2 separate regions of the Homo sapiens genome follow, and region 2 is linked to region 1. Evidence: promoter capture Hi-C in 16 types of primary human blood cells and fetal thymus (Javierre and others, 2016). All regions are on one chromosome and are shown on one strand. Each heading gives the region's core, a stretch centred on a gene start or on the middle of the fragment in contact. The rest is flanking DNA. Distances are from core to core; before and after follow the strand shown.

The links. The method cuts DNA at HindIII sites, captures the fragments that hold promoters and counts their contacts. A CHiCAGO score of 5 or more calls a contact.
Region 2: a fragment that was not itself captured here is called in contact with the fragment with the promoter of CC2D1A in region 1 in 4 of 17 cell types (naive CD8 T cells, monocytes, total CD8 T cells and 1 more); the score reaches 6.2 in naive CD8 T cells.

The regions. Positions count from the first base shown.
Region 1 is chr19:13,902,136-13,909,864 of GRCh38, forward strand. It overlaps CC2D1A (coiled-coil and C2 domain containing 1A), which reads left to right and starts at 4,066. Exons shown (of 29, transcript NM_017721.5): 1 at 4,066-4,366; 2 at 7,688-7,729. The coding sequence starts at 4,307. BRME1 (break repair meiotic recombinase recruitment factor 1) reads right to left here and starts at 3,982. Exons shown (of 9, transcript NM_001345843.2): 1 at 3,580-3,982; 2 at 2,727-2,778. The coding sequence starts at 2,757. RefSeq lists a silencer at 4,381-4,440. The HindIII fragment of the contact is 3,878 bases long and covers 909-4,786 here.
Region 2 is chr19:14,332,569-14,340,297 of GRCh38, forward strand. All of the region lies in intron 1 of LINC01841 (long intergenic non-protein coding RNA 1841), which reads right to left. LINC01842 (long intergenic non-protein coding RNA 1842) reads left to right here and starts at 1,175. Exons shown (of 2, transcript NR_134916.1): 1 at 1,175-1,451. RefSeq lists enhancers at 1,197-1,872, 5,912-6,412, 6,413-6,913 and a silencer at 5,015-5,215. The HindIII fragment of the contact is 1,054 bases long and covers 3,207-4,260 here.

The DNA of each region.
Region 1 (7,729 bases), core at 2,816-5,315:
CAAGATCAGCCTGGGCAACATGGTGAAACCCCATCTCTACTACAAATACAAAAATTATCTGAGCGTGGTGGCAGACACCTGTAATCCCAGCTACTCAGGAGGCTGATGCAAGAGAATCGCTTGAAACCAGGAGGCGGAGGCTGCAGTGAGTCAAGATCGTGCCACTGCACTCCAGTCTGGGCAACAGAGTGAGACATCATCTTAAAAAAAAGTCTGAGCTGGGCGCGCTGGCTCATGCCTGTAATCCCAGCACTTTGGGAGGCCGAGATGGGCGGATCACCTGAGGTTGGGAGTTCGAGACCAGCCTGACCAACATGGAGAAACCCCATCTCTACTAAAAATACAAAAAAATTAGCTGGGCATGGTGGCATATGCCTGTAATCTCAGTTACTTGGGAGGCTGAGGCAGGAGAATTGCTTGAATCTAGGAGGCAGAGGTTGCGGTGAGCCGAGATCGCGCCAGCCTGGGCAACAAGATCAAGACTCTGTCTCAAAAACAAAAACAAAAAAGTCTGGGCTGGGCGCGGTGGCCTACTCCTGTATCCCCAGCACTTTGGGACACCAAGACGGGCAGATCACCTGAGGTTGGGAGTTCAAGACCAGCCTGACCAAACCCTGACTCTACTAAAAAAATACAAAAATTAGCTCAGCATGGTGGTGGGTGCCTGTAATCCCAGCTACTTGGGAGGCTGAGGCAGGAGAATCGCCTGAACTTGGGAGGTGGAGGTTGCAGTAAGCCGAGATCGCGCCACTGCACTCCAGCCTGGGCAACAAGAGCGAAACTCCGTCTCAAAAAAAAAAAAAAAAGTCTAGAAGCAGTGTACCGAGGTTAGAGTCCTGTCCTGTTTTTCATGCTGTTCTACAGTTGATCACTGTCCTATGGCTATGCTAGATGTCAACATTAGGGAAAGCTTGGAGAAGGGTAGCTAGAACTCTCTGAATTATTTTTGCAACTTTTCTTTAAGTCCCAGATTACTTCAAAATAAAAGTTTTCTTAAAAGTCTGGAAGAAGAATTGTTAACAGCAGTGTACATTTGTGTACTACCTTAGGTCAGTTCTGGGTGCTTTACAGATACTAATCCACATGTGAGCTCTAAGGGCAGGATTCTTCACCTTGGAGGACATTTGGGGCTGGATCATTCTCTGTGGCTGGGGGGCATCCTATGCATGGTAGGATATTTGAGCAGCATCCCTGGCCTCCACCCACTAGATGTCAGTATAATTTCCCCAGTTATGAAAACCAAAAAAAGTCTCTAGGCCGGGCACGGTGGCTCCCACCTGTAATCCCAGCACTTTGGGAGGCTGAGGCAGGCAGATCACCTGAGGTCAGGAGTTTGAGACCAGCCTGGCCAACATTGTGAAACCCTATCCCTACTAAAAATACAAAAATTAGGCGGGCGTGGTGGTGCACATCTGTAGTCCCAGCTACTTAGGAGGCTGAGGCTGCAGAATCGCTTGAACCCAGGAGGTGGAGGCTGCAGTGAGCCAAGATCTTGCTACTGCACTCCAGCCTGGACGACAGAGTCAGACTTGGTCTCCAAAAAAAAAAAAAATAAAGTCTCCAAACATTGCCAGCTGTCTCTGGAGGTCAAAATCCCTTCCTCTCACCTAGTTGAGAAACACTGCTCTAAAGGAAAGGGTAGTGGCTTTTATTATCCCCAATTTACAAAAGGGGAAACTGTGGCACAGAGGAAATCATCCACCACCACACACTGAGCAGAACTGGGATGAACCCAGGTTTTGGGCCCCAGAGTAAAACACTCAGCCACATACCGAGTGGCCTTGTAGTACATCAAGCATTATTCCAGGGGTCATCTCTGGGACTGGTTCCGCAGGGAGGCTGTCCCGCTGCCCTGAAGCCCGGGGAGGCCTCCTCTAAGCTGTGGGACCCCACCAGAGGCTTGCAGAAGCTCCAGAAAACTTTCACTTTTACTTTTCCTGTATGCCCTCTCCGTTATTTCTATTTTTCTTTCTTTCTTTTTTTTTTTGAGACAGGGCCTCAATCTATCAGTCAGGATGGAGTGCAGTGGTACGATCTGGATTCACTGCAACCTCCACCTCCCAGTTCAAGCAATCTTCCTGCCTCAACCTCCTGAGTAGCTGGGACTACAGGTGCCTGCCACCACGCCCAGCTAATTTCCTTACTTTACATTGTAGAGACAGGATCTCGCTATGTTGCCCAGGCTGGTCTTGAACTCCTGGACTCAAGCGATCCGCCCACCTCGGCCTCCCAAAGTGCTAGGATTACAGGCGTGAGCCACCACACCGGCCTTCTATTTTTCTTACCAGCATGAATTAAATCCTTTTTGTCTTTTTCTTTTTTTTGAGACAGAGTCTTGCTCTGTTGCCCAGGCTAGAGTGCAGTGGCACCATCTTGGCTCACTGCAACATCGGACTCCCAGGTTCAAACGATTCTCCTGCCTCAGTCTCCCGAGTAGGTGGGACTACAGGCATGTGCCACAACACCTGGCTAATTTTTGTATTTTTAGTAGAGACGGGGTTTCACCATGTTGGTCAGGCTGGTCTTGAACTCCTGACCTTGTGATCTGCCCGCCTCGGCCTCCCAAAGTGCTGAGATTACAGGTGTGAGCCACCGCACCCGGCCAATCCTTGCTTCCTTTTAAGGAGGTTAAGGCAGTCGTGTTAGCCAGATCTGCAATAAACAAGCCCACATTCTTCCCACAAGCAGAAGCAGAAATCAACAAGTGTCCATTTGAATGAACGTACCTGAGGTCCGCAGCTTCTTCCTCTTAGTCATTTTATCTTCCCCTTGAGAAATCTGAAAACAAGCAAAATCTCTCATCATTATAAGCAGTCTCTGTCTCTGTTTATATCCAGTGGCTTTGGCTGAGAGCAGAGGTTACCCCTACCTCCACCTCAGCCCATTTGGCTGCCCCAGGGGTCAGATGGCTCCCACTGGGACACAGGATGGGACACAGAGTCACAGCCACTTTGGGCCATGGCCAGGTAGGAATTCAAACCTCCTCCAAACTGAAGATCTTATGCCCAGGACCTGAAAGACAAATGGGCCCTGGGGGGTCCTTATAGATAGCCCCGGGGACCCAGACTCTGGTCCCTAGGATGAAACAGCCTGTGTGAAGCCCCTCCCTCCAGACTGGGGTATCTGGGGGCCCTTCCAAGGACACTTGAGGACTCTCCAGGGGCCTCTGGAGACCAGCCTGGCCAATATGGTGAAACCCCCTCTCTATTAAAAACACAAAAATTAGCCTGGGCATCGTGACGCACACCTGTAATCCCAGCTACTTGGGAGGCTGAGACAGTAGAATTCCTTGAACCCATGAGGCAGAGGTTGCAGTGAGCCGAGATCGCTCTACTGCACTCCAGCCTGGGCGACAGAGCGAGACTCCGTCTCAAAAAAAAAAAAAAAAATTAGTCAGGTGCGGTGGCACACACCCGTAATCCCAGCTACTCAGGAGGCTGTGGTACAAGGCCAGGAGGCAGAGGTTGCAATGAGCCAAGATCGTGCCACTTTAAAGGGGACAGCTGGGTCCTTGGAGGGGAAAGAGCTGCCATAGGCCGGTTTCTCCCAGCCTTGGGGGCGAGGCAAACCAGAACGGACCTGGGCCACAGAAGTCGTTGAGGACCCTCTGTCCTTATCAGAAACGAGCTCTGCCTGGATCAGTTGGGAATAAGTCGCTTGAATTATCCGCGTTACTCTTTTTGGAAAAAATAAATGGCCAAATTGGCCCTCACAGAACGCTGGAGGCCTCGAGTCCGGAGGTGAAAGATGGAAAGGCCTGAGGGTGGGCGCTGTAGACCCCGCTCCCGGTGACAAGCCCCACACTGACACTACGCCGACCACCGAGAAGTGAGGACTCCACAGGCCGAGAGCCCACGTGAAGCCGGAGCCCGTCGGTGACTGACAGACGCTCTGAACCCCACAGATGTCGCCGCCCCTCACACCTGCGCGCGCTCTGCCTCTTTCCCGCGCCCCGCGAGGTCCCGCCCCGCGCATGAGCGACGCAAACACCGCCCTCGCAGCCCGCGACAGTCAGCACCGCCCCAGCCAGGCGCCTGCGCGCCCACGCACTACCTGCCGGGAGTTGTAGTTTCGGCTCGGCAGACCCGGCGAGCCCAGTGGCCGCGCTCCGGTGCGGCGGCGCCCGAGGCCCGAGGCGGAAGTGGGACGGCCAAGCAGGGAAGCGAGGGCTCGGGATCGACGGCCGCGGGGCGCCGACGAGGAGTGCAGGACTCAGGAAGGGCGAGTGCGCGGCGACAGAGCCCGGGGAAGGAGGCAGGGCAAGGCCGGGCTTGGGGGCAGGTGGTCCGGGCATCCAGCCTTGAAGATGCACAAGAGGAAAGGACCCCCGGGACCCCCGGGCAGAGGCGCCGCGGCCGCCCGCCAGGTGAGTTTGCGCCCCACGGCCCGACCTGGGGATCCCTCCCCACCCCCGTCACTCGCTCAGGGAAGGGCCCCACCCCCCAGGGAAGCCCGATCTCCGCCCCACAGGTAAGCCCCGGTCCCCGCCTCCCCCCAGGTGAGGCTCCAACACCACCCAAGTGTGGCCTACTGGCCTTGGCTCCCCAGCTCCTGGGGCCCTGCCCCGGGTTCGGGGCCACCTGTTGCCACAGCTGCTCCAGTCGAGGAGGGGCAGTCCTCGGACTTGACACATCAAACCCTTGCATCAGTCGGGCCATGTCAGACTCTTTTTATTCCATTGTACAGATGAGGACTTTGAGACTCAGAGACGTGAAGACATCTGCCCAAGGTCATAGGGATTAACAGCTTGGCCAGGGCTAAGCACAAATCCAGGGCTGCAGCCATAAGCTTATGGCACTGTGGCTGGACCCCTTCTCACTCTCCCGACTTCTTTGCCCCAGGCACCAGATAGTTTGATTTTTCTCAGTTTTGATGGAAGGAGCCCAGGACATAGCTTGGTGTTCAGATATTAGAGTCTGGCTGACCTGAAGTTCCCTCCTGGCCTCTGTACATCGGACACTTGACTTTACAGCTCTGAGCCTCAGCTTTCTCATCTGTAAAATGGAGATCTCTATAATCCCAGCACTTCAGGAGATGGAGGCGGAGGCAGAGGTGGGAGAGTCATTTGAGGCCAGAGTTTGAGACCAGCCTGGGCAAAAGCAAGACCCCCGTCTCGACAAAAAAAGACTAACTGGGCATGGTGGCATGTGCCTGTAGTACTACTACTTGGGAGGCTAAGAAGGGAGGATTGCTTGAGCCCAGGAGTTCAAGACCGCAGTGAGCTATGATTGCGCTACTTCTGCTCCAGCCTGGGTGACAGAACAAGACTCTTTCTCTAAAATAAAGATAAAAAATTAAAAATGGAAGTCCGGGGTGGTGTCTCACACCTGTAATCCCAGCACTTTGGGAGGCCATGGCGAAACCCCATCTCTACTAAAAATACAAAAATTAGCTGGGCATGGTGGCGGGCACCTGTAATCCCAGCTACTCGGGAGGCTGAGGTGGGAGAATCGCTTGAACCGAGAGGCGGAGGTTGCAGTGAGCTGAGATCGCGCCACTGCATTCCAGACTGGGTGACAGAGCAAGGCTCCTTCTCAAAATAAATAAATAAATTCCTTCTGAAAATAAATAAATAAATAAAAAATTAAAAATGGAGACCTCCAAGAGACCCTACATTACAGGACAGTTGTAGAGAGTCATTGAGATAGTTTATGGAAAGTGCTAGAACATAGCACTCAATAAATGTTACTATTATCATTATTACTAGTTGGTGGAACCATACATAATTGCCAATATTTGGCCATTTTTTACCTACAGGAAAGGCAATTTCATATGGTTAAACACGATGTTATCACATCATGATTGGTCATTAGCCAAGATAGGAAGACGGGTCTGCATGGCAAACCTGCATTGTGGTTAGGGGTTCTTTTTTTGTTTGTTTGTTTTTGAGACAGAGTCTTGCTCTCTCGCCCCAGGCTGGAGTGCAGTGGCGCAATCTCGGCCCACTGCAACCTCCGCTTCCCGGGTTCAAGCGATTCTCCTGCCTCAGCCTCCCGAGTAGCTGGGATTACAGGCATGCGCCACCATGCCTGGTTAATTTTGTATTTTTTAGTAGAGACGGGGTTTCTCCCTGTTGGTCAGGCTGGTCTGTCTCGAACTCCCCATCTCAGGTGACCCGCCTGCCTCGGCCTCCCAAAGTGCTGGGGTTACAGGCGTGAGCCACCGTGCCCGGCCTAATTTTTGTATTTTTAGTAGTGATGGGATTTCACCATGTTGGCCAGGCTAGTCTCGAACTGCTGACCTCAGGTGATCCCCCCACCTTGGTCTCCCAAAGTGCTGGGATTACAAGCGTGAGCCACTGCACCTGGCCCTGTCGTCAGGGCTTCTAATTGCTCTTCTTTTTTTTTTGGAGACAGAGTCTTGCTCTGTTGCCCAGGCTGGAGTTTGGTGGCGCAATCTCAGCTCACTGCAACCTCCACCTCCCAGGTTCAAGCAATTCTCCTGCCTCAGCCTCCCGAGTAGCTGGGATTGCAGACACCGCCAGCACTCCCAGCTAATTTTTGTATTTTTAGTAGAGACGGGGTTTCACCATGTTGGCTAGGCTGGTCTCGAACTCCTGGATTACAGGCGTGAGCCACCGCATGCAGCCATCATGCTCTTGAAGCCCAACCTTCCCACACAGCCCCTCTGCTGAGGATGCTGGAAAGAAAAGCCCAAGTGTACAGAGTAGCTTTGCTTTGGGCAAAGTGTGGAGCCTGCTTCCTTCCCTCCTTCCCTCCCTCCCTCGCTTCCTTCTTTTTTTCCTTCCTTCCCTCCTTCCTCCCTCCCTCTCTCCCTCCCCGGCTCCATCTCTCTTTCTTTCTTTCCTTTCAACAGGGCTTTACTCTGTTGCCCAGGCGGAGTGCCGTAGCACAGTCATGGCTCACTGCAGCCTTGATCTCCCCAGGCTCAAGTGATCCTCCTGCCTCAGCCTCCCGAGTAGCTGGGACCACAGGCACACAGCACAACTCCCAGCTAATTTTAAAAAGTTTTTTTTCCTGTAATCCCAGCACTTTGGGAGGCCGAGGCGGGCAGATCATGAGGTCAGGAGATCGAGACCATCCTGGCTAACAAGGTGAAACCCCGTCTCTGCTAAAAATACAAAAAAAAAATTAGCCGGGCGTGGTGGCGGGCGCCTGTAGTCCCAGCTACTCGGGATGTTGAGGCAGGAGAATGGCATGAACCCCGGAGGCGGAGGTTGCAGTGAGCTGAGACTGCACCACTGCACTCCAGCCTGGGTGACAGAGCGAGACTCTGTGTCAAAAAAAAACAAAAAACAAAAAACTTTTTTTTTTTTTGTAGAGTTGGGGGTCTCACTGTATTGCCCAGGCTGGTCTGGAACTCCCAGACACAAGCCATCCTCTTGCCTTGGCCTCCCAAAGTGCTGGGATGACAGGCGTGAGCCACTGCGCCCAGCCAGGGGCCTGCTTTTCCCACTGAACTTGGCCCAGCAGCACATCATAAGTGTGGATTCAGATCAGAGAGCTGGGTCTCTTGCCCTTTGCCCCAGGTTGAACTGTGCCAGAGGGCCTGGCCTATCTTGGAACACCTGTTCTGGGCTTGTTCCAGCCTCCTGGCACTCCCCAGGGAAATGGCTTTCCCTGGGAGACCTTGTTTCCTTCCTCCCAAGGGGACTCTCTGGCCATCATGGCTGCCTCTAGCCATGTGGTGAACCAAAGGTCTGACTGAACCCTTGCTGTTCCCCTAGCTGGGCCTGCTGGTTGACCTCTCCCCAGATGGCCTGATGATC
Region 2 (7,729 bases), core at 2,484-4,983, 430 kb after region 1:
TCCAGCCTGGGCAACAGAGCAAGACCCTGTTTCTAAAAAGAAAAGAAAAGAGGCCGGGCACGGTGGCTCACGCCTGTAATCCCAGCACTTTGGGAGGCCGAGGCAGGCGGATCACGAGGTCAGGAGATCGAGACCATCCTGGCTAACATGATGAAACCCCGTCTCTACTAAATAATACAAAAAACAATTAGCCGGACGTGGTGGCCGGCGCCTGTAGTCCCAGCTTGTCGGGAGGCTGAGGCAGAAGAATGGCGTGAACCTGGGAGGCAGAGCTTGCAGTGAGCCGAGATCGCACCACTACACTCCAGCCTGGCTGACAGAGCGAGACTCTGTCTCAAAAAACAAAAAACAAAAAAAAAAAGAAAAGAAAAGAAAAATCAGGCCGGGCCTGGTGGCTCACACCTGTAATCCCAGTGCTTTGGGAGGCCGAGGCGGGCGGATCATCTAAGGTTGGGAGTTTGAGACCAGCCTGACCAGCATGGTGAAACCCCATCTGTACTAAAAATACAAAAATTAGCTGGGCATGGTGGTGCATGCCTGTAATCCCAACTACTCAGGAGGCTGAGGCAGGAGAATCGCTAGAACCCGGGAGGCAGAGGTTGCGGTGAGCCCAGATCGTGCCATTGCACTCCAGCCTGGGCAACAAGAGCAAAACTCCATCTCAAAAAAAAAAAAAAAAAAAAAAAAAAATCAGTGGAGTGGCTGTGGGTGGGGAATGGATGAAGGGACATTGATTTCTGGGCCGTCTGAATGGAAGTGTTCCTTACTTTGATGGGGTGGGGACACGGGGTCGTGCATGCAAATAATATGTGCAGGCTTGGGACTTCACCGCATGTAAATTAACTCTCAATAAAGTTCCAGGAAAAGTAATTCCAATTCCAGCAACCGGATTTTGGGCTCAGTTCGGAGGCTAGCCTGCAAGCCTTGCTGGTGGGTGGCCTGTAGGGGTGACAGGAAACCCCCCGGGCCTCCGCTCTTTAGGGGAGGGGGAGCCTCGCCCTTGCCCCCCTCCGGGACGAGCGGGCAGATCTAAAAGCTTCCCTACCGCCGCCCAGGCGGTCGATAGCAGACTCCCAGGCTCCGTTTCTGCCTGCCCGGCAGCCCGGGCCCTTCCCGCCAGCCCAGCCCCTGGGAGGGGACCCGAGCCGGGCGGAGCCTCCTCCGGAGCCGCACGCCGGGCTCGGCTCACCCTCCCCGGATGCCGCTCCTCCTCCATCCCCAGAAGTTTCAGCCACTGAGATTCCCCTTGTCCCGGAGGCTGGAGGGGAAGACCCAGGCGGCTGCGCTTTGGAGGCTGGACCATCGTGGGGCTTGTCTGTGCCCACTTTTCCCCCATTCAAGAGTTACCACTGCCAGGCGCAGTTGCTCAGGCCTGCAAACCCAGCACTTTGGGATGGCAAGACAGGAGGATCGCTTGAGCCCAGGAGCTTGAGAACAGCCTGGACAACATGGTAAGACCGCATCACTATATTAAAAAAAAAAAAAAAAAAAAAAAAAAAAAAAAAAGGCTGGGCGCGGTGGCTCACGCCTGTAATCCCAGCACTTTGGGAGGCCAAGACCGGCAGATCACAAGGTCAGGAGATTGAGACCATCCTGGCTAACACGGTGAAAACCCGTCTCTACTAAAAATACAAAAAATTAGCCAGGCGTGGTGGCGGGCGCCTGTAGTCCCAGCTACTCAGGAGGCTGAGGCAGGAGAATGGCGTCAACCCAGGAGGCGGAGCTTGCAGTGAGCCGAGATCGCGCCACTGCACTCCAACCTGGGCGACAGAGCAAGACTCCGTCTCAAAAAAAAAAAAAAAAAAAAAAAAAGAGGCTAGGTGCGGTGACTCACGCCTGTAACCCCAGGAGTTTGTGACCAGCCCGGCCAACATGGTGAAACCCCGTCTCTACTAAACACACACACACACACACACACACACACACACACACTCTTAGCCGGGTGTGGTGGCGGGCGCCTGTAATCCCAGCCACTCGGGAGGCTGAGGCAGGAGAATTGCTTGAACCTGGGAGGCGGAGCTTGCAGTGAGCCAAGATCGTGCCATTGCACTCCAGCCTGGGCTACAAAAGCGAAACTCCGTCTCAAAAAAAAAAAAAAAAAAAAAAAATTCAAGCCTAGTGGATTGGAAATACCACTTTCCCTGTCTTCCTTCATCCTTTCCTTAGTCACTATCTAGACACCCTTTTTACTGGGAGTCTGGGTTACAGGGTTACATTAACCAGAACCTTAAAGAGAAAAATACTGTAATTGCAAAAACGACCAGCCTTTTAAAATGGAACAAAAGAGACTAGAAAATATCAGAACCCACTGCACAGTAGAAATATGACTATGACTTCCTGAAACTTTTGTTTTAGTTCCAAACCTGGGTAGAAGGCCTACGTTGCAATGTAAAAAATTAATTCTTTGATTTGTGATCAAAGTGCTTGAAAGATGTGGTTATATATGATGTTTGAAATTGGTTTTCTTTTTTTTTTAATTAATATATCACAGAGGTCACGCTGTGTCAATGAATATAAGTTTTAGCACTTGAATTTTCTTTTCTTTTTTTTGAGACTGAGCCACCTTATCACCCAGGCTGGAGTGCAGTGGCGAGATCTCGGCTCACTGCAACTTTCACCTCCTGGGTTCAAGCGATTCTCCTGCCTCACCTCCCAAGTAGCTGGGATTACAGGCACCCACCAACACATCCAGCTAATTTTTGTATTATTAGTAGAGACAGGGTTTCACCAAGTTGGCCAGGCTGGTCTCGAACTCGTGACCTCAAGTGATCCGCCCACCTCAGCCTCCCAAAGTGCTGAGATTACAGGTGTCAGCCACCACACCCAGCTTTTAATTTCCTTTTCTTTGTTGAGACAGGTTCTCATTCTGTCACCCAGGTTGGAGTGCAGTGGTGCGATATGCGCTCACTGCAGCCTCCACCTCCTTGGGCTCAAGCAATCCTCCCCCCTCAGCCTCCCAAGTAGCTGGAAGTACAGACATGTGCCACCATGCCTGGCTAATTTTTTAGTTTTTGTAGAGTTGGGATCTGGCTATGTTGCCCAGGCTAGTCTTGAACTCCTGGGCTCAGGCGATCCTCCCACCTGGGCCTCCCAAAGTGCTGGGATTACAGGCATGAGCCACCATGCCCAGCCCACTTTCATTTTCTACTATGCATGTAGCCAATCCCCAGAGCCCAGGTACCTCCATTGTTTCCAGCCTCTTTTAAAGCTTTTCTTAATGATGGTAACAGCAAGCATCCTCTATGTGCCTGGCAGAAGGCTAAGCATTTCACACACTTTGCCTCATGGAGTCCTCATGAGAGGCCCATTTTACTGATGAGAAAATCTGGGAACCGTAACAATAAACCATATGACTTAGGTCACACAGCTTGAAGGTGGTGAAGCCAGAATTCGAACCCTGGCTGTCTGATTCCAGAGCTCTTAACCACCCTGTGTTAGTTATTCTTTTCTTTTCTTTTCTTTTTTTGAGACGAAGTCTTGCTCTTGTCCCCCAGGCTGGAGTGCAATGGTACAATATCGGCTCACTGCAACCTCTGCCTCCCAGGTTCAAGCAATTCTCCTGCCTCAGCCTCCCGAGTAGCTGGGATTACAGGCGCCTGCCACCACGCCCGGCTGATTTTTGTATTTTTAGTAGAGACGGCGTTTCACCATGTTGGCCAACCTGGTCTCGAACTCCTGACCTCAGGTGATCTGCCCGCCTCAGCCTCCCAAAGTGCTGGGATTACAGGCGTGAGCCACCGTGCCCAGCCTATTCTTTATAGTTCTCCACCTATTTGACTGATTATATCCCTGACATAAATTCCTAGAGGTGGATTTGCTGGGTCAGAGAATCCACATGCTTAAAGGTTTAATACTAATATCTAGAACACCATCCCAAGAAAGTTGTATCGTGGCCGGGTGCGGTGGCTGACATCTGTAATCCTAGCACTTTGGGTGGCCGAGGAGGGAGGATCACTTGAGATCAGGAGTTTGAGACCAGCCTGGGCAAGTCGTGAGACCCCATGTTACAAAAAGTTTTTAAAAAATTAGCTGGGTGTGGTGACCTGTACCTGTAGTCAGCTATTTGGCAGGCTGAGGTGGGAGGATTCCTTAAGCCTAGGAGGTTGAGGCTGCAGTGAGCCGTGATTGTGCCACTGCACTCCAGCATGGGTGACATAGTGAGACCCTGTCTCAAAAAATTAAAAAAAAAAAAGTTGTGTCAATTTAAACTCCCATGACCGTGCTCAAGTGTGCATTCCCAAAACTTCACACACACTCATAAGCTTGACAAGGAAAAGTGATTCTTCAGCTGAACGGTCAGATTGAGCATCTTTACAGAGGTTTGTTAAGCTCTCACTCCTTTGTGAACCCCCTATTCAAGCCCTGTGCCAATTTCACATTTGGGATGTTTGTCTTTTTTTTCTTATTGATTCATATGTGCTTTTTGTATATTAAGGCTCTTAATGATTTGTCTGCCATATACGTGGCAAACAATCTAATCTCCCTTGATCTTTTCTTTTCCTTTTTTTTCTTGAGATAGAGCCTCACTCCGTTGCCCAGGCTGGAATGCAGTGGCACCATAATAGCTCACCGCAATCACTGCAGCATCAACCTCCTGGGCTCAAGCCATCCTCCTGCCTCAGCCTCCTGAGTAGCTGGGACCACAGGTGTGTGCCACCATGCCCAGATAAATTTTTAAAAATTATTTTTGTAGGGATGGGGTCTCACTATGTTGCCCAGGCTGGCTATCTCCTCTGATCTGGGACTCCAGCTAGATCTCCTTTTATTGCCCAACTGGCCTCAATGAACATTTCTCTTCTGTCTAGGCCTCATTGCAGGTTGCATTTTATTGGCGGTTCCTCCAGAAACAAAAGCAGAGACTTTGAGATCTTATGAACCTCAGTCTTACCCAGAACACTTGAAGAACCCTTCAGCTTTCCATGGCAAGAAAGCTCAGGCCCTGGGGCCAGAAGCCACGGCTTTGTGTCTGGGTTCTGTAGTTTACTGCTATGGCTCCAGTTTCTGATTCCTCCAAGTTAAGATGGGTTGGTAAATTCTGCCACGCAGAATGCGCTTCTAGCCACGCCCACTGTGTATCAAACCATGCCCACTGTACATAAACCACGCCCTCTCATCTAGCTACGCCCACCAATCGTCTAGCCACGCCCACCTTCGAGTGGAGAGGTGTGATTAGAGCATTAAAGAGAGAGGCGTGATTAGAGCATTAAAAAGAAGTGAAGAACCGAAATAGTGAGGATCCTGGGCCAGGGGGAGGAGGAGGGAGAAGATCCCCTGGCCTCGATGGCTGGCAATTCCTTCATGCCCCTAGCACCCACCTGGTTAAAGAAAGGATAGCTGGGCGCAATGACTCACTCCTGTAATCCCAGCACTTTGGGAGGCCGAGGCAGGCAAATCTTGAACTTGAGGCCAGGAGTTCAAGACCAGCCTGATCAACATGGCAAAACCCCATCTCTACTAAAAATACAAAAATCAGCCGGTGTGGTCGTGTATGCCTGTAATCCCAGCTACTCAAGAGGCTGAGGCACGAGAATCGCTTGAACTCAGCAGGCGAAGGTTGCAGTGAGCCGAGATCACACCACTTCACTCCAGCCTGGGCAACAAAGCAAGACTGTCTCAAAAAAAAAAAAAAAAAAAGAAAAGAAAAGAAAAGAAAAAAGAAAAAGAAAATAAAAAAAAGAAAGAAGGAGGCACCTGGCTACTGTATTCCACCTTTCTCCTCACCCACTCTTTTTTTTTTTTTTTTTTTTGAGACGGAGTCCTTCTCTGTCATCCAGGCTGGAGTACAGTGGCACCATCTCGGCTCACTGCAACCTCCGCCTCCTGAGTTCAAGCTATTCTCCTGCCTCAGCCTCCCAAGTAGCTGGGACTACAAACACGCACCACTACCTCCGGCTAATTTTTGTATTTTTAGTAGAGATGGGGTTTTGCCATGTTTTTCAGGCTAGTCTTGAACTCCTGACCTCAAGTGGTCCGCCCGCCTCAGCCTCCCAAAGTGCTGGGATTACAGGTGTGAGCCACCACGCCCGGCCCTCACCCGCTCTTTAAAATATCCCTACCAGGGTCAATGGTTTATCTGTGCCTCAGTGTTCCCATCTGTAAAATGAGGATAATTTTAAGGATTACCTGAGTTAGCATCTGTGAAGGGGTTAGAATGGTACCTGGCACATAGTAGGCACTCAATAAATGGCATCACTGATATGGTTCCACGGATGGTTGTATTATTAATAGGAATAAAGTGTGGGATGGAAAAACGTTGCTCTGGGCACCTGGAACCAGCCCCAGGGGCACGTGGGGCTCTACACAGGCTCTTTACCCCATGCCAGCGGGAGGACACTTTGGGGGGAAACTGAGGCACTGACAATCCCCTGCCTTCCCAGCCCTGAGTCCTTCTCACCCATGCCCAGAGCCTCAGAGGCCAGCAAGGTGCCCCAAGGGAAAGCGACACTTCTGAACTGCGCTGCCTGGCACAATTACCGTTTTCATCCTCATTAAACTACATTTTCATTCTAATTAGAGTTTCACCGCCTCCCAGAGAGAAGGGCCGATTACTTTTCAGCATCATTAACACTGGCTCCCTCCCCACTTTCCTCCTCCCCTGCCCAGGCTCCCACTACACCAGGGCATTCTCTCTCTCTCTCTCCTTCACCCCATGGACCAGAGAGAAGCAACAGAACATTTATTGTCGCCTACTGGGTGCCAAGTTGGATGCTAGGAACCTTCCCCCACAGCCTCTTCGCCTTATCTTGGGCTGGTCTAATTTTCTTTTTGTCCCCAACACTTACCCCTTTTTGTTTTTGTTTTGTTTTGTTTTGTTTTGTTTTGTTGAGACAGGGTCTTACTCTGTCGCCCAGGCTGGGGTGCAGGTGCGTGATCTCGGCTCACTGCAACCTCCGCCTCCCGGATTCAATCGATTCTCCCACCTCAGCCTCCTGAGTAGCTGGGATTACAGGTGCACACCACCACCTGGCTAATTTTTGTATTTTTTTTTAGTAGAGAGGGAGTTTCACCAGGTTGGCCAGGCTGGTCTCAAACTCCTGATCCCAAGTGATCCGCCTGTCTTGGCCTCCCAAATTGCTGGGATTACAGGTGTGAGCCACTGCGCCCGGCCCCTTTTGAACATGCTCTATGCTTTATTTGTTCTTTTTATCCTCTGTCTCCCCCTCCCCAGAATGTCAACACCCACTCATGTCCCCCACGCACTCCTGGGCACGCTGACCCCACAGCTTCTAAGAACCAGCTCCCGAGAAGTGGCTCTGGCTGCTGAGTGGGTGGAAAGTATGGAGAACAAACACTCTCCTGGAGCAGACCTTGAGCAATGGCTGATGGGAGTTGGTGGATAAATATCCCAGCTCCCTCGCCCCTAGGTGGGCACCCTCTGAAGAGTGTGCTCTATTTGATTTCAGCATTCTCCAGCATAATTGAGTTGCCCACAGTGGAAACTGGCTCATAAACACCCTTCATTGGCTACCTGCCCTTCCCTTCCTCACTCTCCTTCTCCCCTACCCATGCTTACTGAGATCATCTCTCAGATCAACCATATCCTAGATCTCCCAGCCCCTTTGGAGTTCAGGCAAACCAGAGAGGGACTCAATACCCAAGGAACAGGTTAAGAAAGCCTCTGCAAAGCCAGGCACGGTGGCTCATGCCCGTAATCCAGTGCTTTGTGAGGCAGAGGCAGGAGGATCATTTGAGGCCAGGAGTTCAAGACCAGCCTGGCCAACATGGTGAA